Regions from separate parts of the Homo sapiens genome. Here all the other regions are linked to region 1. The links are contacts of gene promoters, found by promoter capture Hi-C in blood cells and fetal thymus (Javierre and others, 2016). All regions are on one chromosome and are shown on one strand. The core of a region is centred on a gene start or on the middle of the fragment in contact, and the rest is flanking DNA. Distances in the headings are between cores, read along the strand shown. Region 1 holds the start of TP53AIP1 (tumor protein p53 regulated apoptosis inducing protein 1). Region 2 overlaps LINC02725 (long intergenic non-protein coding RNA 2725). Region 3 has its middle 19 kb from the start of LINC02098.

Region 1 (4,378 bases), core at 492-2,991:
CATTATTTTCAAATGGGTCTTAAAAAGGAGTGTTGGGGGCCAGGTGCGGTAGCTCATGCCTGTAATCCCAGCTCTTTGGGATGCTGAGGTGGGCAGATCACTTGAGGTCAGGAGTTCGAGACCAGCCTGGCCAACATGGTAAAACCCCATCTCTACTAAAAAATACAAAAGTTAGCTGGGTGTAGTGGTGGGTGCCTATAATCCCAGCTACTCCGGAGGCTGAGGCAGGAGAATTGTTTGAACCCAGGAGGTGGAGGTTGCAGTGTGCTGGAGGTTGCGGTGTGCTGAGATGGCACCACTGCACTCCAGCCGGGGTGACAGAGTGAGACTCTGTCTCAAAAAAAAAAAAAAAAAAAAGATTGCTAGGGGAAGGCTGGAAGCCCAGGGAGGAAGCAGGTGTTCCCTGCCCAGCAGTGATTGCTCCCTGGTTGCTGGAGGAACGATGGAATCAGAGTCACCCGAGGACCAAAGCTCCACACCTCTTGCTATCCCAGACTCTCTGGAACACCAGGAAGAAAACATATTTGGACAAAAATTATTCTTTGCAACATTAGAACTTTTGATTCTGGAATGAGACAAGGAAATATGTATGTATCTCAGAGAGACAATGAATTTTTAAAAGGAAATTGGGACCGTTTCTCAGGGTGAGATGTCTTATCCGGTTAACTGCGAGCCCCCAGGGATTTCTACTCAGAGTGTTCATCACATCAGGTTTCCATTCTCTACAATAAAAACATGGCTAGGGAGAAATTACCCAGCACTGGCAAGAAAGAGCTCCAAAATAGAAGCAGCTTTTGAGGAATTTGGAGGGATAAAACGGAATAGTATGTCTGAAAGTTGGCAACATGTAAAAAGGCTAAAAATGACAATTCTGCCTGTGATACTATGTCTAGTGTGCAACGCTTCATTCAAAAGGCAGGCACGTCTCCCCTCCAGGCGGGAGTGGGAATCTCAGTGGGGAACCGGGAACTGCGTTTGAGCTGATGCAGACTCAGGGTCAACTCGACAAGGGAGCCCGGCACCCAGACACAGCGGCGTTCACCTCACCTTGCACCGTCTTTGTCGGTCTTACAGGCATCAGCTTTCCCAGCCTCATTTGAGCCGGGATCTGAGTTGCATTTCTTTCTGGGTCAGGCCTTGCCATTAGGGAGAGATGAAGTCAACTGATGAGCGTGCCAGCCTTGAGGAAGGACAGAGTGCGGGAAGCAGAGTGTGGGAAGTTGGAAAAAATAATCTGCAAGGTAAACACCTTCAAGTCAATTTCAAGAGGCTGGCTAGAAACCGCCAGGACTTCAGGGGGCCCTGTCTCGCGGGTCTCCCTGCGCCCTCAGCACTTTGGCTTGGTATAAGGCCACCTTGTCCCTGAAGAGAGGCCTATTTTAAGCTGAGCAAGAAAAGGTGAGAAAGACTAAAATCAGCTTTGTGCAGAGACGCCAATTTCTGCTGCACACATGGAAACGATGTGCACATACAGCGAGCTGGCCCAGCTCCCGGCCACGTGGCTCACACTGTCCGTGCTCACCCACCCGTTGCCTTCACCCCCAGCAGCACTGGTTGTGAAAAGGGTAACTGCCTGAGCCACCCCACCACTGCGGGCCTGCCAAGGACAGGCAGGAACTCAGCCATGCCCCGCAAGGAGCCCAGGGGCATCTCCAGGGACGGCTCCCCAGCCTATGGGCTCGCTCCCTGAGAGGCCGTGCTCGGGCTCGCCTGCTCAGCTCACTCCGAAAGCCTCTGCTCAGACCTGCACCCAGTCACAGCAGCACAGATGTGCAGGAGGAGACCATTTCCACGGACCCTCCGACTCCTAGGAGGCAGGTGAGGAGAGGGGGAGGGAGGGGACCAGCGCTGGTGCTTCAGGTATGCTCTGGCCACTGCGATTCACTCTGCTTTGTGCTTGGGGTTTCACACGCATCTCGGCGACTGTGTGCGGAAAGTACAGTCGTGACCATGCGCAGGTGAGGCCTGGAGGAGGTCAGCTAAACTGCTCTCTCTCAATGGTTCTGAACCCTGAGAGTACATCAGAGTCACCTGGAGGACTTACGAAAACACACACTGCAGAATTTCTGACTTGGTCGATGCAGGTTGGGGCCAAAAATGTGTATCTCTAACAGGTTCCTGGGCGATGCTGACGCCGATGCTGTGCGTCCTGAGCCACACTTGGGGAGCTACTGCGCAAGCTCGCACAGCTAGCCGACCGCTGAGCTGGGGCTCAGACCTGGGTCAGTCCTGGTCCACAGGCCAGCCCCTTTCTCACGTCCCCTGGTGAACGGCGGCATGGTGGCCTCATGGACACTGAGCAGGGCCCCTAGGGAAGCCTGTATGGAGGCCACTTCACTTTGAATGGATCTGGGATAGAGGAAGGACGCGAGCTGTGGGAGCCTGGGTCCTGGGCACAGCGGGCATGTCATGGCAGGGTTCACCAGCCTCCTTTCAGCAGTTCCCTAGTTCTGCCCCAGCTACCTGTGGTTGGTGGTGGGAGGTTTATTTGTTAGTTCCTTCAGCAGTGACTCACCACACTTACTGAGAGCTTACCGTGTGCCAGGACTGCCACAGGTATGGGGATGCAGAGTGTCCACAGCCCCCCAGAAGATTGATGATAGCACCCTCCATGTAGGAAGGGCTGTGACTGCAGACAGGGCATGGGGCGGGGCACCTGTGTTTGCCACAACCTCTAGAGGGTCCCTTCATATTCACGTCTGTGCGTGGGGCCCTCCTCCACCCAGATCTGCTTCCGCAGCACAGCCACACAAGTCTACAGCTGGTGACTGTGGCTGGCAAGCAGGGGAAGGTGGGTGGGGGCGGCAGCCGTGGGCTTTCCACTGGGTCCCAGCAGACCAAGTCCTGGTACAAGGAAGCACGGGCTGGCACTGGCAAACCCTCCTCAGGGAGCAGCAGGCCAGGAACCTGGGCTGGGACTAATTATTGCTGAAGAGAGAACAGGGCCAAGTGTCCCTCATGTCCCCCCAGCAGCCGGGGCAAGCAGAGAAAGAAATGTCGGAACCGGGGAGAGGCCCCTGCCTCTGCACAGGGCTAAACATCATGCCAGCTGGCAAGGGAGAAATGGGTACAGGGCCCAGGGGCATTATCACAGAAGAAGGCAATGAAAGGTGCGTTGGGGGCTGAGGCAACCCATTATAACTGCACACATCACACACCAGGGATCCACTAATTTAGACTACAATGTGAATGGTCTTTTGAAACTGAGATGTGTGGGGGCCCAGAGGGAGGGATCCACCCAGCTGGGAGGAGGTTAGGGAGGTCTTCCTTAAAATACTTCCTGTTCCGTCTCAGAGAACCCATGGACACTGGCCAGGGGAGGGAGAGGAAACACGTCGCAGGTGGAGAGAATCGCTTGTGTGAGGGCACAGAGCGGGGCAAGAAGACAGTGGTGGGCTTTCCCCAGGAGCTGTTCGGCAGAGGGAAAGTGGATGCTGAGCTCTTCCTCTTCCCTGGAGCAAGTCCCATTTCCTCAGAGAACACGGCCCCCTTGGGCCAAAAGGACATGAAGAAGCTCTTGCTAATGCCAGCCTGGCTCTCCTCATCCCGCCCCCTGCACCCCTGCCCTTCTGGCTGCCCTCCCTTCTCCTAGCTCTGTCCCCTCTCACTTCAGGAGTCTCAAGTCCTTCAGACTACTCCAAAGTCGGGGGATCTCTGGATGGGTAGGAGGTGATCTCACCGCCTCCTCTCTTGCCCGGGCTTGTCGAGATGAACTTCCTGATGCTGGCGGCGCTGAAGCTGACACTAGCGGGGGCACCTCCCTGACATGAACGCCCCTCGAGACTGGGCCAGTGCTCCTGATGCCTGGGCACCTGCGGAAAGGCACCCAGCGTGGCCGCCGTGGCATGCCTTGAGTGTGTGGGTGGGGACTGTTGCAAACTGACATTCCAGCTGTCCCAGTCCATTTTGTGCTGCTCTCACACAACCCCGGAGAGTGGGCGATTCACAAAGGACAGAAATGTATCTTCCCACAGCTCTGGAGCCAGGTGCCAGCAGGTTCTGTGCCTGGTGATGGCTCCAGTCTCTGCTTTCATGATGGTGCCTTGCTGCTGCGTCCTCCAGAAGGGACAAAGGCTGCCGTCCTCACATGGCTGAAGGTGGAAGGGCAACGAGTGAATGTACTCCCTCCACACAGCACCTACATCAGGACACCTGATTCCATTCATGGCCTAATCCCCTCTTAAGGCCCCACCTCTTAATGCTAGCACATTGGCAACACCTGGATTTTGCGGGGGAAACACGTTCAAACCATAACACCATCTAAGGCTGCTTCTGCCTGAGACAAGTGTGCTCATGTCTGCCTCAGAGACGGGGCCAAAAGCAGCTTGCTCTGCCCTGCCCTGGAAGCAGGACAGAGGATAGCTGTCATCTCTCCCTT
Region 2 (4,378 bases), core at 793-3,292, 770 kb after region 1:
GCACCTTCCTTACTAATGCAGGATGGCTCAGTTAATTTCTTTCTTTGGTCTTCCAGTTATGCTGTTGAGAGCTTGCTCATGGCCATATATAAGAGGTGACAACAATGGCTTTTCAGAAACAATACCAAGAGAGCAATAGAAACACTTTATTTACCCACAGTGTAAAATGGGCTGCAACTAATTATTTACAGATGGGGCAAGCTTTGATAAATAGATTGACTGATTAATGATTTGGGTTATATTTCTGACATTAACTCAAACTGGACTTGGGCTTAGTTTCAAAATAAAATAAGCCTATCTAGACCAACCTGTTGGTGCGAACTTTAAAATGGCCAGAGACAATCAGATAGTGCTTTATTCCTAGGGGCTTATGGTTGGAAACCTTGAAGGAAAAATTAGCTGAATTATCTACAGTCAGGTTGAGTGCACGCCAAAGCCTTAGAATTCTAACTCTATTGTTTTGGCTGAGTTTCTACCTGCCCCTGCAGCTAGTCAATTCCATGGAAACATGACTCATACTGTTTGCCATCATGTAACAAAAATAAACAGTGGTAGTTCTCCTCTTTAGGTTTTTCAAGCACAAATTTTGGCTTGATTGAGGCTTAATCGAGGTTGACGACACTGTTAGAGCACTTCTTTCATTCTGACTTCTAAGAAGGAAATAGTGAAGAGAAGTTAGAAATAGACACTCTAATTTCTACATATATATATATATATATTTTTTTTTTTTTGAGACGGAGTCTCGCTGGGGCACCAGGTTGGAGTGCAGTGGCGCGATCTTGCCTCACTGCAAGCTCCGCCTCCTGGATTCAAGTGATTCTCCTGCCTCAGCATCCTGAGTAGCTGGGATTATAGGCACCCGCCACCACGCCCGGCTAATTTTTTGTATTTTTAGTAGAGACGGGGTTTCACCGTGTTAGCAAGGATCGTCTTGATCTCCTGACCTTGTGATCCGCCAGCCTCGGCCTCCCAAAGTGCTGGGATTATAGGTGTGAGCCACCGCGCCTGGCCCTAATCTCAATTTTTAGCTTGCATTTTAGTGGGCGCGTTAGGGAAGACATTTTGGTCAGAGCAGTCAATCTCTTCTACTTACAAAAGTCCTGTATATCCATCACCCCTCCATGCCAAATTTTATTTACTCCAAAAAGCCATTCTAATTTCTTCAACAGTGCCTTGTCCTCACTTTGAATCTCTTTAGTTCTTTTTCCTTATAAACATTTTCCTGGGCAAGAAGATGGAAATCTCCGCACCATGCCGGACTCTCCTTGCTGTTTTGCTCCTAGTAAGCTCTCAATAAGAGATTTTTAATGTAAAACTGTGCGAGTACTTAGTGGCAGAAGCACAAGCGCTCTTCCAAAACTGCAACAGCATAGCAATATGGTGCACATGTCTGTGAACATACAGCTACCACCCCATCGACAGCTTCTCTTTCTTTTGCTCAATTTCTTTTTTTTTTTTTTTTTTTTTTTTTGAGATGATGGAATCTCTCTCTGTCGCCCAGGCTGGAGTGCAGTGGCCCGATCTTGGCTTACTGCAAGCTCCGCCTCCTGGGTTCACGGCATTCTCCTGCCTCAGTCTTCCAAGTAGCTGGGACTACAGGTGCCCGCCACCACGTCCGACTAATTATTTGTATTTTTAGTAAAGACGGGGTTTCACCGTGTTAGCCAGGATGGTCTCGATCTCCTGACCTCGTGATCCGCCCGCCTCGGCCTCCCAAAGTGCTGGGATTACAGGCGTGAGTCACCATGCCCAGCCCTCAATTTCTATGCTGTAGCCAAAGCAGCTTTAAAACAAATTTGAACTTGTCACTTTCCTGCTTTCAAAGCTTCATGACTCTTTCTGGCCTCCTAGACTCCGAATTCCCTAGATGGGTCTACCAGGCTTGTACTGTCTGTCCCCAAACCCCCTCTGTAATCTCACTTTCCTCCATTCCCCCATGATTCACACTTCTGTCTACTTTGAATTTCTCTGTTGTTATCCCTTTCTGAACTACCTCTCCCTCCATTTTCTGCCTAGTAAACGTTTCTTCATTATATAAGACTCCCTATAAAAGTTCGCAAATTTCTTTAGGATTTTCCAAAGATCCAAGACAGAATAAGTTTCAACTTTCTCTGGGATTTTATATAGTTTTGCTCATTATTTTATTATAGCATCTACTGAGTCTTATATTAAAATTCTTCACCTATACTAAGTCATGTACTAGATCTAAGAGTCTTTAAGATAGGGATCTTACTGATTTGTTTTGGTCTTCAAGCTTAGTATATAATACATAATAGGACTTTCATAAGTGTGTGATGAATGAATAAATGAACAATTCTAAAGGATAATGACAATAACACTGGACTGTCATTGGTAAACTTGAGTTCTAGACCCACCTGTCACTTCCACCTTGAGGTCTCAGACAATTTAACCTTATTAGTCCCAGATTGCTAGCATGCACAATGAGTACTTCAGATTTGGTAACTGCCGAAGTCTTTTCTGTTGTCCGATCCGTGAAGTTGCGGCTCTTGAGTAAAGCTCATCAAGGCAGACTTTCTGAGAAATTCCCAATGCAACAGGTTTCAAGTAATTAACCAGGAAAGACTCTTCCAGAAGTGGTAGCTCAGCACATACTGAGAGTAAATACCATGTTAGTGATGAAGAGATTGGAATTTCTGCAAAGAATTGATTCTGATCTTGAGCCTCTTACTAGTTTGGAGAGATCAAAATATTGGACACATTGCCTATTGTTATTTACTTGAGATTAGTTAATGGAAATCAGAGAATTTAGGGGCACATAATGCTGCCACATGAATAACTGACTTGATTCTTTTATAAACCATTCAGATTGAATTCCATGAAAAGCAAATTCCTACCTACTTTTCCAAGGATTGAATCCAGAGTGTTTTCTTAGACGGTGTAACCGGGGTGCACGGGGCAGTGAGCTAAGGTGCAATCTTCCGTCTGTGTTGTGCTTTACACTTGTTCTCACTATGCTTCAGTTTAAAAGGGACCTGAAATCCAGGAAACAGAAGACTGTGGTCCCCTGAGTATCCAGCTTTCCACTCAGTATCTCTTCGTATCTAATTGGCATGCCAAAGTTTACATGGCATCAACAAAACCCTTGGTTGCCCCACATATCCAGAATTTACCTCCACAAGTATTTGCTATTTAAGTAAATGCCATCATTATCCACTCAATTTCTTAGAACAAAAATTTACAAGTCATTCTGGATTCCTTGATTTCCCTCAATTCCCATTATCCAATCATCAGTCTGCTATTCCATTTCCATTAAAATGTATTCTGAAACCAACTACTTTTTACTCTCTCTACCGCAACCACCCTTTCCCCAGATACTGTGATCTTTTAGCTAATGTTATCACCTCTGCAGTAGCTTTTCTGCCTCCACATTTGCTCCCTTACATAGGATCTGTTCTACACGCAGCAGCCAGAGAAATCATTCTAAACTACAAATCAGATCCTCCTATGCCCATTTAAAAGTCTCCAGTGGCTTCTAAGTATGTTTTGAACCTGACTCTTCCCATGGCCTGGTCATTCTAACATTATCTGGCTTTGCCAATGCACCCAATTCATCTCTCTCTCTTCCTTCTTGTTTCTCTGGTTTACTTAGTTTTATCCATGGTCTTTTGTGATGTCCCCCCATTTTTTTTTCAGAAATGTCATCTTGCTCTGTCACCCGGAACACAGTGACGTTTCTTAAAAAAAAAAAGACATCACAAAAGGATGGAGTGCAGTGCTATGGTCATAACTCACTGCATCCTCAAGCTCCTGGGCTCACACAATCCTCCTGCCTCAGCCTCTGGTGTAGCTGGGACACAGGTGCATGCTACTCACCTGTCCTGATGTCTTCAACATACCAAAGAAATTTCTCATCTCATTACATTTGTACTTATGGTTCCTTCTGTGTCAAATGCTCCTCTTACATAGCTGGCTTCTCATCATTTAGGTTTCACCTTCATGAGGCTCCTCCTCATGAAGAGCTTCTCTGATGCTCCTCCTCATGAAGAGCTGCTCTGATGCTCTCTAAAACAACTGGTCCTGTTACAGTCAATGTCTGTCAAAATCACCCCGTTTCATCTTCTTCATAACACTTATCAGTACCTTAATGATCTTATTTCTTGGTTTATATATTTATATATTGTCTGGCTCTTTCCACTATAATGCAATCTCTTTGAAGATGGAGATTCTGCCTTTCTTATCAAATGTTGTGTTCCACACTTTTAGAACATGTTTATCATGTCTCAAGTCATATAATAATATACATTACTAAATATTTGTTAATTAACTGACTAACCAAGTTTTCCTATTGTTATATATGAGCAATAAAGAAATAGAAATAAAACAGCTAATTAATGAGGGTTAGATAGTCTCCAAAACA
Region 3 (4,378 bases), core at 528-3,027, 750 kb after region 1:
CGGGAATTTCTAGAAATGGGCTAGGATTCTTCAATAAAGGCCCACTGCTGTAACAAATCATGCTAACATTTCAGAAGCTTAATGGAGCAAGATCTACTTCTCGTTCATATTTGTATACAACGTCAGTCCATAATGGTGGAGAAGTGATACTTCGTCCATTGTATCACATTTGTTGAAGTGGGGACTCAGAAGTCCCCCATCTGCTGACTCGATGGACTCCAGGGAGTTGCAGTTCTCCAGATTCTCTTCAATCTGCTAAATCATGAACAAGCAGAGAGCAGATCATGGGATTCCGGGGGCCAGGCCAGAAATTCTGATATATAAGCTTCACCCTTATTCCATTGGTCAAATCTAGGTCACGTAGTGCCACCTCATAGCAAAAGGAAGAAAATGAAAAATGGTAGAATTGTCTGCCACAGGAGTTCAGGGACATGCAACTGAATGGTAATCTTTTTAAAAAGCTATTTGAAATGTGTTATCATTTCAGAAATTTCAAACATTAATATGTCTATTTCAGGAGATCACAGATAACTGATCTTTCAACGTGACATAATCAATTATCACATTTGAACTGAGAAACAGAGTCCACATTTTTTAAACATATTGTAAAAGTATAAAGGCAAAATAAATTTACTCTGTGCTAAATTAGGCAACAGCATTGGCTGCCTGATAGGGGAGATGTGGGAGAACCAGCATCAGCTATCTGGGATGGAGTCAAGTGGAGAGTGGGGTCCAGGGCCAGGAACTGAAATGTGGGGAAAGTGGGACATAAGGGAGTCCTATTGACACCCCTCACTCTGACTTCAAGCCAAGAGGTGAGCATTGGCTCACCAAGAGCCAAGAGACTGAATCAGGAGATGGGTGTTTCACTTTGCCCAGGCTTCAATTGTTGGATGGCGTTGAGGTGAGCAAAGATTCAAGTGGGTCTTTACGGTGCCTTCACATCTTTAGGTGGCCACACTCTCCCTGCTGCTCTGTGGTCTAGATACTGGTTCTCCTGAGTGCCTGAAGCCCTCTCATCCAGGACTGGTTGTGAGCACTGCATACGCCCTTTGATGAGGGTCGGTGGTGAGAAGGAGGGGTTCCAAGGCTGTGTTCTCACCTCTTCTGTGCTAGTGAGAAAACCACAGCTCGCCTGTTCTCAGAAGCTCACATGGACAAACCCTGTACTGGAAGGGACTTTAATATGGTCATGATCCCTTAATATTGTAAGACAGAGAAAATCTTTCAGGGTGTGGTTTCCTGACATTCCCCATAACGAAGAGTCTACAAGCTGTGTGTGTGTGTGTGTGTGTGTGTGTGTGTGTGCACGCGTGCACACGCACGTGCATGCACGTGCGTGAGAGAATTGTAGGAAACAAACTTTAAACAAAAACATTTCTTGAGAAACATCTTGTGTAGACCTAAACGTGCGTTATGATCTTTTGCTCTAGGCCCCATGTAGAGCTGAAACATTGTCCTGAAACTTGACCCCCCTTGGCCTACTCCCCTCATTGAGAAGTGCCCTTTCTCCCCTCATTGAGAAGTGCCCTTTTCAAAAGGGAAGTAAAAGCTGTGAGTAGCACCTATTTTGTCAGAGAGGCACAGGATCAAGTTCTACTTTGGCCTGCATGCACACTTCATGCATACATCATAATCTGTTTCATTGATATCCCCAGCCAGTCATACAACACCTTCTGATCTCTAGGTTTGGAGCCATATAAATAAATAAGAAAATAACTTTTTTTTAAATAAAAAGATTTCTAGACTAAAAAGGTACTTACTGGTTTCTTTCTTTCTTGTCTCTTTAATTTTGTATATGTTCCAGATATTTTTCTTGTTGTTTGGAATAGAAGTTTTGGTGAATTTACTTTAACATTTTGTTATAGACTTTTGGCCTTGTGATACGAAGACAAGTTACTTCTTCTTGCCCACCAGCTAGACAATTAGCTAGTCAATCAACCAACAGATGCTTAATAAGATCCTACTATATGCAAAAGCATTCTGGTAGCTACAGTAAAGTTTAAAGCAGAGAAAAGTCAGTTCTGCCTCTATTTTATATATATCTATATAATGTGTATATATACACATATCCATATTTTATATTAACATATGAATATGTTAATATATATGCATGTTTTATATGCGTATACATGTATATGTATATTTGTATATGCACAAATATACATATACATGTATATGTATATTTATATATACATATGCATGTGTACATTGTATATATACATATACATTTGTATATATGTATTTATATGTATATATACACATATGCATACATGTATATATGTATATATGTATATGTACATATATGCATACTATATGTGTATATATACACATATGCATACTATATATGTATACATAATTACATATAAAAACATGCATAATTACATGCGTATATGTATATATAATTTTATATCACATATAATTAATAACTACTATATACGAGGCACTTTGCAGTGTCTCAATTGGAGATACATTTGTCATTTGGAAACATGGGCAGGGACAATGGAAATTGTAGAAGTCAAGCAAAGTGTCTCAGCCAAATATGTTTTCCATAATTCCTTGCAAGTCTGTTCCCAGGCCTTCGCTTTCTCTGTGTGCCAAAGTGACCCTGCTGGGAAAATGGACCATGGAGACAACTGGAATGACTTTCACAGTGGGACTCGGGTTTTACCCTTGTCCTTAATAGCATATAAAAGCCTAGGCTGAGTTCAAAGGCAGGGAACATCAATCTTCGATAACACACATTTTTTAGGGTAGTGTGAGGAGTCAGGAATGTGTGACATGATGTGCGGGGCTGGGATGTGAGGTGGCTGCTGCTGGAGACGTGCCTCACGTTACATAAGAAGCACTTGCTTTCTCCAGAGCTGGACGTTGAACCAGCCTTATGAATGCTGAATGAAGCTGCAGTCCACACTTCTGAGGGAAGGGTGAGGTTTTAGAACACTTCAGGACATCCTGGCTGGTGGAATTCAGGTATTTCTGAAAGCCTCACATCACAGAGCACAGTCAACAGGGCAGCTGAGTTTTGAAGCCAGGCATTCCAAGTTAGATTTCTTTCATCCACATTCCTAGAGACACAGCCAATTCTCCCTCTGTCGGGAAGAGCTGCCTCCTTGTCCTCTTCCTGCCATCCTGCCTGACTTGTCTCCATGCCCTTGACACCTCAGAGGTTACAGGGTTCCTTCTCTAGAATACGTGTTTGTTTGTTTTTCCCTGGCTCAAAGCTTAGGTAGAGGCCCATCCTGTGAACTCAGTGACCCGCCCCTTTACTGTGTAACAGCATTTTTACATGATCATTTTTGCTTGTCTGCCTCAGCCCCTGAATTTATTCTTTGGGTTGTGTCTCTAGTGCCTAACATGGTGCCTGGCAATAGCAGATGTGAAAAAATGCTCATTCACTCTCAGATGAATCAATGCCTGCAGTCTCCCAGAGCATCAGTCTATGCTAACATATGTGGCCTTCTGGGAGCCTTTGCCTTCAGTTCCTATGGAAACTGGGTGCTGCATTTCACTTAATGTAGAACATCTGAAAACAGGCCTTGTGGGAGGAGCCCTGGAGTGCAGGACAATGAATGGCTCATTAGTGTCAGTGAAACTTCCCTCCATGTGCAATTGCGTACACCATTAGCATCTGGTCCTGAATAAGTGGGGGACTCCAACAGATGTTCCAAAGGCTCCATGGCTAGCTTTCTCCTCATTCACAAAATTGTGTTCCCTGCTACTCCCCTATTGGCCTGTAGAACAAGAAAGTGATCTTCTGAAGAACCCTAACTCTGTGTCCCTTGAAATAAACCAGGTTCCTCTCCTCATTGCAGCTTCTGGAGGGAAAGAGACGAGAGAAAAGATGGATAAATAAGCATAAGTGACAGAGCTAGATATCTATGTTGGGCACAGAGCTGCTGCTGCTGCTGTGTGTGTGTGTGTGTGTATTTCACATTGTATTAGTTTGTTAGGACTGTTGTAGCAAAGTTCCATAAATACCTTGTGGTTTAAATACCAGGTGGCTTAAACAACAGAATTTTGGCTTCCCTGTTCTAGAGGCTGGAAGTCTGACATCAAGGTTATCAGCAGGGTTGGTTGCCGGTTCCTTCTGAGGGCTGCGAGGCAGAATCTGCTCCATACTTCTCTCCTAGCTTCATGCGTTCCTTGGCTTGTAGACAGACATCTTCTCTCTGTGTCTTCACTTAATTTTTGCTCTGTACATACCTGTCTCTGTATCTCCCAGTTGATATGGGGTCATTATAGTGAGCTGTAATCCAATATTATTGGCTCCCCTTGAAGGGACCCCATATCAACTTAATCATCTGCAAAAGCCCTATTTCAAATAAGTTCACACTCACAGATAAGGGGCTTAGGATTTCAACATCTTTTTGAGGGA

The links. Contacts are between HindIII fragments. The CHiCAGO score rates a contact against its expected background, and 5 or more counts as called.
Region 2: a fragment that was not itself captured here is called in contact with the fragment with the promoter of TP53AIP1 in region 1 in 7 of 17 cell types (total B cells, naive B cells, naive CD8 T cells and 4 more); the score reaches 12.3 in total B cells.
Region 3: a contact is called between a fragment that was not itself captured here and the fragment with the promoter of TP53AIP1 in region 1, in 3 of 17 cell types (total B cells, M2 macrophages and naive B cells). The highest score is 6.9, in total B cells.

The regions. Positions count from the first base shown.
Region 1 is chr11:128,940,234-128,944,611 of GRCh38, reverse strand. It overlaps TP53AIP1 (tumor protein p53 regulated apoptosis inducing protein 1), which reads left to right and starts at 1,741. Exons shown (of 4, transcript NM_022112.3): 1 at 1,741-1,818. RefSeq lists an enhancer at 3,398-3,898. The HindIII fragment of the contact is 8,104 bases long and covers 1-4,378 here.
Region 2 is chr11:128,167,828-128,172,205 of GRCh38, reverse strand. It overlaps LINC02725 (long intergenic non-protein coding RNA 2725), which reads right to left. Exons shown (of 6, transcript NR_183639.1): 4 at 2,860-2,993. Among named protein-coding and RNA genes, the nearest start is that of LINC02098, 39 kb to the left of the region's middle. The HindIII fragment of the contact is 429 bases long and covers 1,828-2,256 here.
Region 3 is chr11:128,187,179-128,191,556 of GRCh38, reverse strand. No RefSeq gene overlaps it. Among named protein-coding and RNA genes, the nearest start is that of LINC02098, 19 kb to the left of the region's middle. The HindIII fragment of the contact is 2,899 bases long and covers 328-3,226 here.